2 separate regions of the Homo sapiens genome follow, and region 1 is linked to region 2. Evidence: promoter capture Hi-C in human tissues and cell types (Jung and others, 2019). All regions are on one chromosome and are shown on one strand. The core of a region is centred on a gene start or on the middle of the fragment in contact, and the rest is flanking DNA. Distances in the headings are between cores, read along the strand shown. Region 1 overlaps CNTNAP4 (contactin associated protein family member 4). Region 2 holds the start of CNTNAP4 (contactin associated protein family member 4).

Region 1 (6,937 bases), core at 1,822-4,321, 110 kb after region 2:
CATATTTATAGCTCTGTTGTTTTATTTCCCCAAAATACCTAATATAAGGTAAAATTAGAAAGTAAGAACAACAGGGAAATCATATTTTTCAATACATGAGCCAAATGTGAAGTATTTAAATTTTTTAAAAAATCAATGAGTTAATTTACAGTCAGCATTCAACCGGTTGCAACATTTTTTGAAGGAAAATAGCCTAAGGTATAAATATAGTGAAGATATACATATGAATTATTCTGACACCTGACAGGTGCAACTTATAAAGTATGAAACAGTTTACATGACAGGAGCATAATTATAAATATTTAAAGATCCTTTTTTTAAACAATATAACGCATTTTGTTGATTTGCCTTGATGCTTACTCCAGATTTTTCCCAGATTTATTTAGAGCAGCAAGAGCTATGTGATAAGTACAGCTGATTCTCACTTTCCCTGACAGTTATGTTTTATAAAGTTTCCATGGACAATGAATTATCAAATACTGAACCATTGCTATGCTATGTCATCTCACAGGGACTGCCTTAGGAGGGACTAGAGATTGTTTTTAAGATAGGATAAAAATACCTTGTTTTTTTATTTTAGCAATTTTGATTATAAATTCAAACCTGAAAAATACAGAGAAAATATAAAAATAGAAACAACTGTAATTTTTCTTCATGCAAAAATTATTTATATATAGCAATGTTTCCTTTCAGTCTTTTCTCATATTTATACAAAAATTAACACTTTAATTAGAAGTGTGTGTGTGTGTGTGTGTGTGTGTGTGTAGAGAGAGTGAGTTGATTCTCATTATGCGTGGAAATTATGTTCTATAAAGTTCCTGTGAACACTGAATTAGAGAGTAGTGGGTAAATACACAATTAGAGTCCCGTGAGCCTCTGACTGCAATATTTTTGTCCACCCATCAATACGTAACCTTGTTTTACGTATGTTTCTGTTTAAAGACACCTTATATAGTCTGTAGTGCTGATTTATTAATATTGAGCTCATGGCCAACAGCACTATAACTCATGACTGAATGAAGCTTCCCTAACACATATTTTCTCCGTAAGGTGCATGGCAGCTTTCTTGTACTTAGGAACATAAGGCAGTATTTCAGCTCTACGTTTGGGGCCCATTTTAAACAGGGAAATCACCAAAAAATGCACAAAAATGTGAAAAATGAATAGATAATGAAAAAAAACACTTGTTTACAGTATTGTAGCTGAAACAGGAAGGCAGAGTGCCACCTTGTTTGAACTCAGTTGGAAGCAGGTACGTTGGGCAGCCCAGAGTCTTCACTGCTGTGGGCACATTCACAAATGACCACTGAAGCACATAAAGCTTTGATTTGGGGTTAAAAATAAATCTTAGCTAGTAGGCAAATTCACAATACAGTATCTATGAATAATGAGAAAGAACTGTAATTTACTATTTGCCTAAAAAATACCATATGGGTATAGTATAGCTCTATTATATTCTTGCCACGTCTTTTATAATCTGTTTATAAAAACTAGCCTCGGGCAAAATAGTAAAATGAGCAATTTTTTAAAATTGGAAACTGCCCTTTGCCTTCTCAGTGGTACACATTTTTTAAAAAAATTTGATTTGCTTGCTCTCAGTTTGGGGTTAATAAGACCAAAATTTAAAATGCAAGCTTCCAAAGATAAGAATCATGCATTTTGTTGAATTGCCTTTATGCTTACTCCAGACTTTCCCAGATTTATTTAGAGCAGTGAGAGCTGTGTGATAAGTACAGCTGATTACTGTCTTATTTACGTTAATTTTCCAGAGCCTAACCTGGTGCTAGAAACATAGTAGGTACTCAGGAGATACTTAGGCACAATAAGTGAATTCATGTCATCAGTAATATATATCCCACCATGGTGAGTAGAATGGCCTTCCAAAGATGTTCACTACCTTAACGTTGGGACCTATAGGTATGATATCTCTATAAAAAAGGCATATTGGGATTGTAGATGGATTTTAGGTTGTTAATCAGATGATCATAGTAAGATTACCCTGGATTACACAGGTGGGCCCAGTGTAATCACCAAGGGCCTTAAAAGTCAAAGGAGGCCTAAAAGGAGATTCAGAGGGAGAGGAGGCTGTGGAAGGAGAATAGAGTTATGCAATCTGTGAATGACTCAACTTGCTTTTGTTGGCTTTGAAGATAGAGGAAGGGAGCCATAAGCCAAGGAATTTGTGCAACCTCTGCAAGCTGGAAAGGACAAGGAAATGAATTGTCTCATAAAGCCTCCAAAAAAAGCATGCATCCTGCTGACATCTTGATTTCAGCCCAGTGAAACCTGTGTCAGATTTTTGGACCACAGAACTGTAAGATAATAAGTTTGTGTTGTTTTTACCCACAAATTTTTGGCAATTTGGTACACTCCATGCCTGAGAAAATTGATACACCTACCACATGACATTTATAGTCCGATAAGTGATATCACAAATTTGAAAATCCATTAGGACACACAGCAATGAATATTTATATGTTAATGTCAAACATTATGGTGAGGACTGGAACTGATATTTTGAGAGAAGCTCATTCTCAGTTCTCAAATCTCATTATATAATTTGGCAGCTATTCATAAAACTGATTGACTGATTTTGTAAATCTTTTGCAACCAATAGTCTCTCTTGCTTTAGGGCTAAAATAATTGATTTTCTCTCATTATTTTGTCATTTTTGAGTGCAAGATAAATTAGTGCTTTATATATTTTAAATCATGTACTAAGTAATAGCTTGGTATTTATAAAATGTTTATAATCAGGCTTTGTGATAAAATATGGTAAGATCAATATTACAGTACTCCAAAAAAGCAATTGCCCTCTGAAACTTCAGAATTAATGCTCATGAAATAATCAGCAAAGAAGAAATGAAAATTAATGTTGTTTTAAAAACCATTGAACATGGACAAAATATTAATTGCATATTGTCAGTCAACATGATTTAATAGTGGTTTAAATAAGGGTGGTTATGTTGTCATAAGAAATAAGATGATATAGAATACTTATTTTACTTCCTAGTATATAGGCTGTGCTCAATAAATGTAAAGTGATTGCCGTTATTTTTGAGGATGCCATTGTTATTATAATGCAAACACAGAAGGGATCTATTCCCCTCTTTTGTTTTCTAGACTGGTTGAAAATATTTTATTTTTTAAAAAGTATTAATGTCTGCTGAAACCCAATACTATGTAAATATTTGTCATTAACGGGTGCTTGCCAGTCTATTTTGCCCCATACTCAAGGGTTTTGTATTTTACCATCAGTCACTGACTTGAGAGAATACATGAAAATCACCCTTAAGTGTGGGTGGGTTGTGATTACTTTACAAGTTCCTACTTTGTGGATTTAGCCAGATCAGCATCTTGTGGTGTCAGAGACATTACTGGGACATTTACCCAAAGAGTTCATTACAGCACTGCTGTTCATTTCATCCATCCTCAGAAAGGCAGCAGCATCGTGGAGTGCCAGGAATTCACTCTCAGAGGAAGTCAGTGTTTTTCAAACATTGGTACCATAATCAAAATGAAAAACAAACAAATAAAAAACAACTTTTCTCCACACAGCAAAATACCATTCTTTCTTACTTGAGGCAGTAATGAAGTGGTTTTGAAACCTTTGAAAATGAGCATTGTGTAGAATATTGAGTAAATGGATTTGAAACAAATGAAGGAAACATTGATATGGATTTCTAGTGTTTTCTTTAATGTATCAGTCAATTCACACAAGGTAAAATGCACACAAAGTAAACAAACAAAACTTAAGCTATCTAAAAGTCATCTCCTGTAATACTGTGATTTGTAATAATATTTTATGCATAATGTCTGATATATAATAGTAATTCCTGTTATAAACACATATACATCTATTGATTTATTGCCTGTCTATGCTAGGAAATGTTCTAGACATTTTAGATGCATCTAGATATTTCTTATGTAAATCTAAATGATGGAAATGTTATTTATTGATATTTTACATACAAGGAAATGGGAATCAGAGACTTTTGTAGGTCATATAATTAAGGCAGTACCTGACTCCAAAGTACAAGTCTGTCCCAACATGCTCTGCTTCCATTGTAGAATTGTTCTTTGTGTGCTTTAAATTATAATATTTAACAAGGAGTTCTATGTCCTTATAGTAATTCTAGAGAAAAGGAAAGTAATTCTTTAAAAAAGGAGAAAAACTTACATGTACATTTATAATTAATGTTATATATGACTAAGCCAAAACCTTATGTCATTATAATATAAAGAACACTGTCTAGTATATAATAGAGTATAAGTATGTGTAAATATATTGTCACTGTAGGAAATAAGGAAAATGAATATTGCTATATGTTAGAGAAACTCAAATGTTAGGAAATTAGTCCCCAGCATGATGAGCAGAACAAGCTTTCTGTATGTGTGCTCAGGCAATGCAAATGGTTCCATTTGTCTCATATAGATGTTAAGTACGTGTCCTGACTCATACACAGGCATGTATACACGTATCAACTAAGGCATCTTAGTCTGTTTTGTATCTGCCTCTGAAACTAATGTCAAATCAATGTCATGGAATTCTTTCTGACAGCATTTCTGGCAACGTTGCTTGTGGCTCTTCTTCCACTCAGCGCTTTGACAGTGCTGTTTAGTTTTTTTTGTTTTTGCGTTTTTTGTTTTGTTTTTGTTTGAGACAGTATCTCCCTCTTTTGCCTAGGCTGGAGTGCAGTGACGTGATCTCAGCTCACTGCAACATCCTCATCCCGAGTTCAAGCAATTCTCATGCCTCGGCACCTGGAGTAGCAGGGATTACAGGAATGTGCCACCAAGCCCAACTATTTTTTTTTCTTTTTTCTTTTTAGTAGAAACAGGGTTTCGCCATGTTGTCCAGGCTGGTCTTGAACTCCCGGTGCTGAATTCCTCATCTGCCTGACTCAGCCTCCCAAAGTGCTGGGATTACGGGCGTGAGCCACCACATCCAGCCAACAGTGGTGTTTATGGGAACCCGATCTCAGAATAGTGGCCTATTCTGTCCTCAGATATTCTAATTCTTCTTTCTAATATGCTACCAAAACCCACATGTTTTAGTTTGGGTTCCTCTAGAAGCAGAACCTGAGACAAGAATTTGAGTGCAAGTTATTTATTTGGAAGGCAATTTCAAGAAATAACAGTAGGAGGGGAGGGAAGTGAGACAGAGAAGGGAAAGTAGTTAATAAGGTTTGCAATTTGAGCAACTGGAGCTTAGCCCCACTGGGGAATTCTAGGAGCCAGTATACTTCGCCATGTCTCAATGTATCCATCAGAGGAGCAAGGGAGCTGGGGTATTTATCCATCATCTCCAGGCAGTCACTGGATGAGGACTTAGCCTTCCTCCCTGGGAGATGGACAAAGCCGTCAGGTAAACTTGTGCACTACTGGATGCTGGACTTCAGCAAGATGTTTCTGAAAATGGCAAAACCTTCAGGTATATGGTGAAGAGTGGGCATCTCTTACTACAGTAACTTATCTATTGTAACTAATTGTAACTTATCTATTGTAGCTAATCTGGTGAAGTCTTCAGTTCTTTTCTTTATCCTTGCCTTAGAGGCCTGTGTGAGCTGGGCTATACATAGAAGATTGGGGTCTGGACTATATCCTTTTGCCAGGACACTTGTCTCCTCCTAAAAACCCCACATGTAATTGTTTCCTCTGAGAAAAGCTGGTGTTTCTTGTCTCATCAGGCGTTCACAGCCAGGGAATCTGTTCATGAACTGCAACTTAATGCTATCTCTTCTGGCCCCATAAATAACAGGTAAAAAAAAAAAAAGCCCTGCTTGTTTTAAGCAGGCATTATTCCTTCTCATCATTGCATTACTGATTCAAATTGAAAGCCTGGAATGTGGCTTCACAGGTAGCTTACTCACCAAGGTTGTCCCTGCCCTTATTATTATGAAACAATTCTAGGATTTTTATTTCATCCTTAGTCCTCTTTGGCTCTCTTAGCTAACTTGAATCTTTCAAGCACTTCTGGGTTTGCACTATAGGACTTTACCCTCCTCAAGTCTTGAATTTCTTTTAATTCTCATTAACTGTTTTTTTTCTTTTTTAAAAAATTTTTTGTGGGTACATAATTGGTGTATATATTTATGGGGTACATGAGATGTTTTGATATGGGCATGCAATGGGAAATAAGCACATCATAGAGAATGGGGTATCCATTCACTCAAGCACTTATCCTTTGAGTCACAGACCAGCCAATTACAATCTTTAAGTTACTTTAATATATACAGTTATTATTGACTATAGTCACCCTATTGTGCTATCAAATAGTAGGTCGTATTCTTTCTAACTATGGTTTTGTACACATTAACTATCCCTACCTAGCCCCCCACTACCCTTCCCAATCTTTTATCTATTGATGTTGACAGCAAATCACACTGACTGCTGGCCAAAGTGTAAAGATTTCTCCCGCTCCTTTGCATATGATGAGGAGCCAAATGTGGTAAACACTTCCTCCATATGAACTCAAATGTTCGCATTTGACGTTTCACATCTCTTATTATTTTCTGGGGGAAAAGTCAACCCACCTCCAATGTTCTTTCCCACCAGCCACAGTCTTTCTAATTTGTAACTGACTTGTAGAAATTGCTAACGTTTCTTTTTTTGGAATGTTCCAAAGCATGCTAACATTTATTTATCTAAAATATCCTGTTATGCAAAACTTTGTGCTTGGCCTAGTAAATAAAGATCTGGCTGGCATTTTATGCTCAACCAGGTTGTCTTGTATGCTATTCAACATCTAATCAACTCACGTGCAGTATCAGACTCACTTAAGAGCTTGTGTAAAGTGCAGACTCCAAGATCCCACTTCGGATCTACCCAATCAGAACCTCTGAGTGTGGGGTCCAGGAACAGTGTTGTAAGGAGCCCTCCATGTGATGTTTGATGTTCACATGAAGCTTGAGTAACACAATTCTATAGCTTTGCTA
Region 2 (7,109 bases), core at 4,479-6,978:
AGAGCAATTAGACAAGAAAAAGAAATAAAATGCATCCAAAATAAATGATTTTAACAAAGTTGCAGAATATAAAATCAACACACAAAATAAGCAACATTTCTATACATTAACAATAACCAGTTCAAAAAAGAAATTAGAGTGTTACTATAACATCAAAGAAGATAAAACAACTAGCAACAAAATTAATCAAGGAAGTGAAAGAGTTATACACTAAAAAGCCATCAAACGTTGCTAAAAGAAATAAAAGAATACACAAATAAATAGAAAGACATCCAGTGTTTGTGGATTGGAAACTTAATGTTAGAATATCCATACTACCCAAAGTGATCTACAGATTAAATGCAATTCTTATCAAAATGCAAGTGACATTTTTTTTCAGAAATTAAAAAAAACCTTGAAATTCATATGGAATCTTAAGGCACTCTGAATAATCAAAATGATCTTGAAAACAAATAAACTAGATTGGAGGCCTCAATCCTCCTTTCAAAACATATGACGAAGCAGCAATAGTCAAGTTTACTGTGGTACTGGCATAAAAACAGATATATAAAACAATGGAACAGAATGCAGAGCCCAGAAATGAACTCTGGTGTATACTACAGAATTATCTTCCACAAGGATGCCAATCCACACAGTGGAGGAAAGGACAGTCTCTTCAACAAAGGATGTAGGAAAAGTGGATAGTCCTATGCAAAAGAATGAAGTTTGAGCTTTATCTTACCTCACAGACAAAAATTAACTCAAAATGAATAAAGACGTAGACATAAGACCTAAAACTATAAAATCCCCGGAAGAAAGCATAAACGACATTGAATTTGGCAATGATTCATTGGATATGACATCAAAAGCACAGGTAACTAAACAAAAACAGGCAAATGGGACTACATCAAACTTCTGTTCACAAACGGAAACAAAAGGTGAAAAATCAACCTACAAAATAGAAAAAGACATTTGCAAGTAATGTATCTTACAAGGGGTTAATATCTAGACTATGTAAGAAACTTCCACAATTCCACAATACCAAAAACAAATAACCTGATTTAAAGATGAGCAAATAACTTAATAGACAATTCTCCAAAGAAGACATAAGAATGGACAACAAGCATGTGAAAAGAGGCTCAGCATCACTAATCAAGATAAATGCAAATCAAAACCTCAATGAGATATCATCTTATACCCATTGGTGTGGCCACTATCAAAAGAATAGAAAACAAGTTCAAATAAGGATACAGAGAAATTAAAGCCCTGTGCACTGTTGGTAAAAATGTAAAATGATTCAGCTGCTATAAAAAATAGTATAAAGGTTCCTCAAACTTTAAAAATGAATGATTATGTGATCCAGCAATCCCACTTCTGGATATGTATCCAAAATAATTCAAAGCATTATCTTAAAGGAATACTTGCACACTCATGTTCTTTGTAGCATTACTCACTATGGTCAAAAGGTGGAAGAATTCCAAATGTCCACTGAGAGATGAGTGAATAAAGAAAATACAGTGTATACATATAATGGAATACTGTGCAGCCTTAAAAAGAGGGAAACCCGGTCACATCCTACAATATGGATGAACATTGAGGACACCATGCTAAGCGAAATCAGTCAGTCACAAAATGACAAATACCATATAATTCCACTCATATGAAGCATCTGAAGTAGTCAAAATCAGAAACATAAAGTAGAAAGGTGGTTGCCAATGGCTGCAGGAGGGGAGGGAAGAGAGGGATTTAATGTTTAATGGGTATAGAGTTTCAGTTCTAGAGATTTGTTGGATCACAATGTGAATATTCTTATCACTACTGAACTATACTTAAAAATGATTATGATGGTAAATTTAATGTTGTATTTTTTTTAACTACAATAAAAATGAAGGTAAAAGCACAATGTCTAAAAAGTATCCATTTCATTTGGAAGATATAAAGACAAATCAAACAATGTAAAAGAAATGAAATGATTACCCAGATTTGAAATGAAAAGATTCCTATAATAGAAATGTAGGGTAAAATAACTGTTAGATGAATAAATGAAACAAAAACATTGTATGTTAATTTCTTTCTAGTCTTTCAATGTAATATAGTTCCACTCTTGCCTTCTGGCCCTTTTCTAGTCTAAACTATAGTTTAGGATCCTCCATGGACCACTGTGGTGGGATATACAGTTCTCTGGCAAGTTGTAACAAGAAAATAATTCAAAGCCTGATTTTAAGAATTTCAACATTTTGATCTGATTTACATGGCTTTTGCCAGGCAGGGTGTAACCTATAGTATGGACGTGGGAGACCTTAAACACCAGGGTCTTTTCTTAATTGGTGGAAAACATAACCAAAATACAGACACAGGGAGAAGTGATTAAAGGAATCTGAATCAGCAGTACAGGTGTGCAAAATTAGATCTCCACACTTTTCTGACTTTTCCTTCGATTTTCTGATGTTAAACACCATCCTGGAGGGAATGGAGAAATGATGCATAAGTTAGTAGGTCTTGGAGATGAACCCTTTTCTGCCACCAGTGGGTCATATCCCACAAGCTGTAATCCCTCTGCTCATCAGATTTCTTTTCTGTGTCGTGTGAGTTGTACTAATATAATGATTACAAAAGGAATATTGATCATGCGCCTCCTAGGCATGCTCATTTCACAGGACATTGTCTTAACCATGAGGTTGATACCGTACTCATCGTTGGTGCACAGATGAGGAAATTAAGGATCAAGGATTATTATCCTGATGCAGCTTGCCCAAGGCCGTGCAGCTAGTGGGTGGTGGAACCTGTACAGACACTGAACCTGGGTGGCCAAGCTCTGACATTGCCTGCTTAGACCAATTCTCTGTACAGTTTTAATGCAGAGATCTAAAGCTGGGAAGTAAGTGAGGGCCCACTAAGCACAAGGCATTCAATAGTTGTCATATGTTATACCACAGTAACTCTTTGGTCATGATTCTCCTATCGGGTCATAAAATAAATAAACGAAAGGTCAGCATCATTGAGTCATTTAATCAAAACAACAGTGGAAGCTTGTATCAAGGCCGCTCTGGTTTTTTTGTTTTGTTTTGTTTTGTTTTTTTTTTTTTTTGAGTCAGAGTCTTGTTCTGTCGCCCAGGCTGGAGTGCAGTGGCTCGATCTCAGCTCACTGCAAGCTCCGCCTCCTGGGTTCATGCCATTCTCCTGCCTCAGCCTCCCACGTAGCTGGGACTACAGGCGCCTGCCGCCATGCCTGGCTAATTTTTTGTATTTTTAGTAGAGACGGGGTTTCACCATGTTAGCCAGGATGGTCTCGATCTCCTGACCTCGTGATCTGCCCGCTTCGGCCTCCAAAAGGGCTGGGATAACAGGCGTGGGCCACCGCGCCCGGCTGAGGCCTCTCTGTTTACCATATCTCAAGCACTCACTGTTTCATTTGTCTAGGCAACTCTCTACCCCTCTGCAGCCATCAGGCAGAGACAGGTTTTGCAGTGACTTGAAATGCTCAGGTCTTCTATTGAGGGCCAGCCCCCAATTCCTTCTATTACTGTAGCCCATTGATATGGAAAAATCCGCCAGTATTGGTCACTATAATAATTTATACATTGTCCCAAAGAAGTTATTATTGTTATAAAATGTTTATTTTTCATTTTTGCTATGTGTACTTATCCATTTAAGATGCATTCTCTAATTTGTTTTAAGAGAACAATTAAATACAATATTGTAACAACGAGACAACTTTTTTCTTCTGGAGAGCCCACAACCGTCCCACAGACATGATATTTTCTTCAAAGGACTGATATAATTATTCAATTAGATAACAAATGGCATATAGTATGTGTTCAGTAAAATTTAATCTCCTTCAATAATTAGTTAACATAAACTGTTAATTTATATCTGCTTTTACTTAGCATATGATTGAAAAAATAAAATCAGGAATGCAAGTCTAGGAACACAGAATAAACACTCAACCCATGACCTTTCTTTATTTTATTGTATTTATCCTTTTTTTTTTTTTTTTTTTTTTTGAGACAGAGTCTCGCTCTATTGGCCAGGCTGGAGTGCAGTGGTGTAATCTTGGTTCACTGCAACCTCTGCCTCCCGGGTTCAAGCGAATTCCTGCCTCAGCCTCCCAAGTAGTTGGGATTACAGTTGCCTGCGACCACACCCTGCTATTTTTTTTATTTTTAGTAGAGATGGGATCTCACCATGTTGGCCAGGCTGGTCTCGAACTCCTGACCTCAAGTGATTTGCCCACCTTGGCCTCCCAAAGTGTTTGCTGTGTTTTCCTAGGGCCTAAGGTTTTTGCTGCCACTGACAAGGGTCAGGAAGGAGGTATACTCTGATTTAGGGGCAATAAGTCCTAGGGTGAGAGCAGTAAAACTGGAGTCAGAAAAGCCAAATCCAGTCCTCAGCATTTATTACTAACTCTATGACCTCTTCGAATCATTTAAATTCTCTGTTCTTGTTTTCTCTTGTAAAACAGGAAAAGAAAAAAGATGCATTCTGCTTTGTTTGCAGGCATGAGCTAAACAAGCATGTTTAGTTCTTACGGGTATTTCTGTCATTTTCTCACTCTTTGACAAACCTATCTGATCTTTGACAAACCCACTCTCATTATTCCATAAGAAAGTGGTGTTAAAGGCTTATGTTTCTTCCAATTTGTGATTACCAAGAGGCACTTAAGAACTCCAGGATTTCCATTTGTATAAAATCTAGCACATTATCAGTAAAACATCTTGACATTTATTTTAAATAGATTATTTATCTGCTATGAACCATGTGACATGCTTCTTGTTATGTGATAGTAACTCCATTATTTAGACATTTTAAAATTCCATTCAAGAAACAGTTGTATCCATGGACCAGCCATTCAAAGAGTAATTTTTCTTTAATCATTGATCTTCCAAATTCAACTTTACTCCTCTCTCCTTTAAGTCACCTGAATTACATCGTCACATTGTTCAGTGTTTGTGTGAATGTGTATGCATGTGTGTATGTGGTGGTGGTGGAGGTCCCTTTCTTCAGTATTCCCTCATTTCCTACTTTGGGCCTTTTTGGAAATGTTATTAAAAATTTTGATTATAGAATGGTACTTCATATTCACAGCATGATGCATTCATCAACATAAATCTAGCCAAAGCATTTCATTTGTGGATTTATACACCTGAAGCATTAAAATAAGAAATGTTAATTTCTTGCAGACTACTACCAGATGATTTTAAATATCTGCTAAGCAGGAATGTCTGTTCCCATGTGGGGAATTTCCATAATAAAATCCTGGCACCCTCGCTGAAGAGTACAGTTTTATAGAAACAGAGAAAAACAACAGCAAGTATTTTCCCTGAGGACGGTTTTAGCTACAATTTCCCAATGCTGCTTAGTTATTTCTGTCTTATTTTATGCTTTTGTTTTGAAACATAATGCAATTTTACCTGGATGCACTCCCGGATAATCAGGAATGGCTCAGTGTGTTTTCTGGCTCTTGCAAATGCAAGACCTCCAGAAAATCAGAAGGCTCCACCGCCTTGTCCCTTCCCCCACTCACACCTCCAGCTGGGAGAAAAGGGTTAAGGATTATTGGAAAATAGAAGAGAAGGGAGGGAGCCCCAAGGAGGCCCACGAACGGGAGGCCGCGCCTCTGGGTGCAGCGGAGCTCGAGCGCTGTTGTGTGTTTGGAAGGAAGGATGCTGCTGCCAATTTGTGGGACCGCTGCTGCGAGGAGTGGGCGTGGCCTCGGCGGTGTGGATGCTTGTTAGGAAAGATGCTGAGTGCTTTTCAGTGAGGAGTCAGGGAGGTGTGTGTGAGAGAGAGAGAGAAAAGAGAGAGACAGAGACGGGGAGAGAGAGAGGGAGAGAGAAGAGAGGGAGGAGGGAAGAAGAAAAGACGGAGGGAGGTGAGGAGGAAGGGAGGGGGAGAGACAGAGACCTAGAGGGGCTGAAGACCCAGACAGAGCTGGCAGAGCTACTGAGAAGAGGACTGGAGCGCTCTGAGAGCCTCTCAAGATCTTTTGGGGGAGCCCAATAAATGTGAACATGGGATCTGTCACGGGAGCTGTCCTCAAGACGCTACTTCTGTTATCTACTCAAAATTGGAACAGAGTCGAAGCTGGGAATTCCTGTAAGTATACAGCAAATGATTTAAAACTTGCTGGGGGGCTCTCTGCAAAACTTTGATTCTGTTGGTTTGATGATGATTATTTGCAGCTGGGATTGCTGCAAAGCGTATTGCTGTAAACCAAGCATCACTTAAAAATCTTGCCAATGTGACCGGTTAACACTTGTCTCTCCTCTTGGTCTGGTCAAAATAGGCAAAGTGTCATTTCTCTTTTTGTCTACTCGCAGAATCTTACCCTCTGGTCTTTGAGTATTCATTGAGAATGCCCAAGTTCTAGTAAAACATGAAATTAGCATCTTATCGGGGGAATAGCCTGTGAATATCTTCATTTCTTCTTTTTTAAAGAACTACTGAATTTTATTGGAATTATGTCTAAGAGGAAAACAACTGGCAGACTTTACATTATGCTGCATTGGCTTAGATTTCTGAAGTTTGCAATTGGGCAGACCAGTAGCTGCCTGCATCTTTAAAATAATGCAGGCTAATAACTGAAATGTACTGCAGGCTTCAGGAGCACCAGCACTGGCTGAGGCGAGTCTCAGTATTAAGAGCTGTGCCCTCGCTGCTAAGAGAATGAGACTTAGCGCTCTCCGGAAAGAGGAGCCTCTTCCTACATTTCGCTTAAAGGAAAACCAGTCAGGTGGTCTTTCAAAAGTAGGATTCCTTTGTGGTTGAATGCTTAACTGCATAAATTTGTAATTGAATGTTCTGATGAAATAGAACCTATTTAGGGAAGATTGAAATCTTATTTATAATTTAGATATCATCCATAATAATTTGGCAGACTCCCTTCATCCACTCTTTATTAGAGATAGAAAAAGTTTTAAAAGTTATCTTTGGCTTAAATTCTCTAAATGGGAGAATTTTCCCCTCCTGATTAATGACAAACAAGCTTGGCAAATACAACTTTTTATTTTTTCTTGGATTTTAAAGGAAAAGCTCATTTGCTTTCCAAGAACTGGCTATGAGGCCTGTCCAGGAATTTATGTTGCTGCTGTATCATCAGGCTTAGATTTGGGGAACAGAGGCAGTAATCA

What was found. Contacts are between HindIII fragments. The study calls those that stand out against the background at their distance.
Region 1: a contact is called between a fragment that was not itself captured here and the fragment with the promoter of CNTNAP4 in region 2, in 2 of the 25 tissues and cell types used here (dorsolateral prefrontal cortex and hippocampus).

What each region holds. Positions count from the first base shown.
Region 1 is chr16:76,384,813-76,391,749 of GRCh38, forward strand. The region is part of intron 3 of CNTNAP4 (contactin associated protein family member 4); the gene reads left to right. Among named protein-coding and RNA genes, the nearest start is that of CNTNAP4, 110 kb to the left of the region's middle. The HindIII fragment of the contact is 5,146 bases long and covers 499-5,644 here.
Region 2 is chr16:76,271,673-76,278,781 of GRCh38, forward strand. It overlaps CNTNAP4 (contactin associated protein family member 4), which reads left to right and starts at 5,729. Exons shown (of 24, transcript NM_033401.5): 1 at 5,729-6,075. The coding sequence starts at 5,991. The HindIII fragment of the contact is 9,673 bases long and covers 1-7,109 here.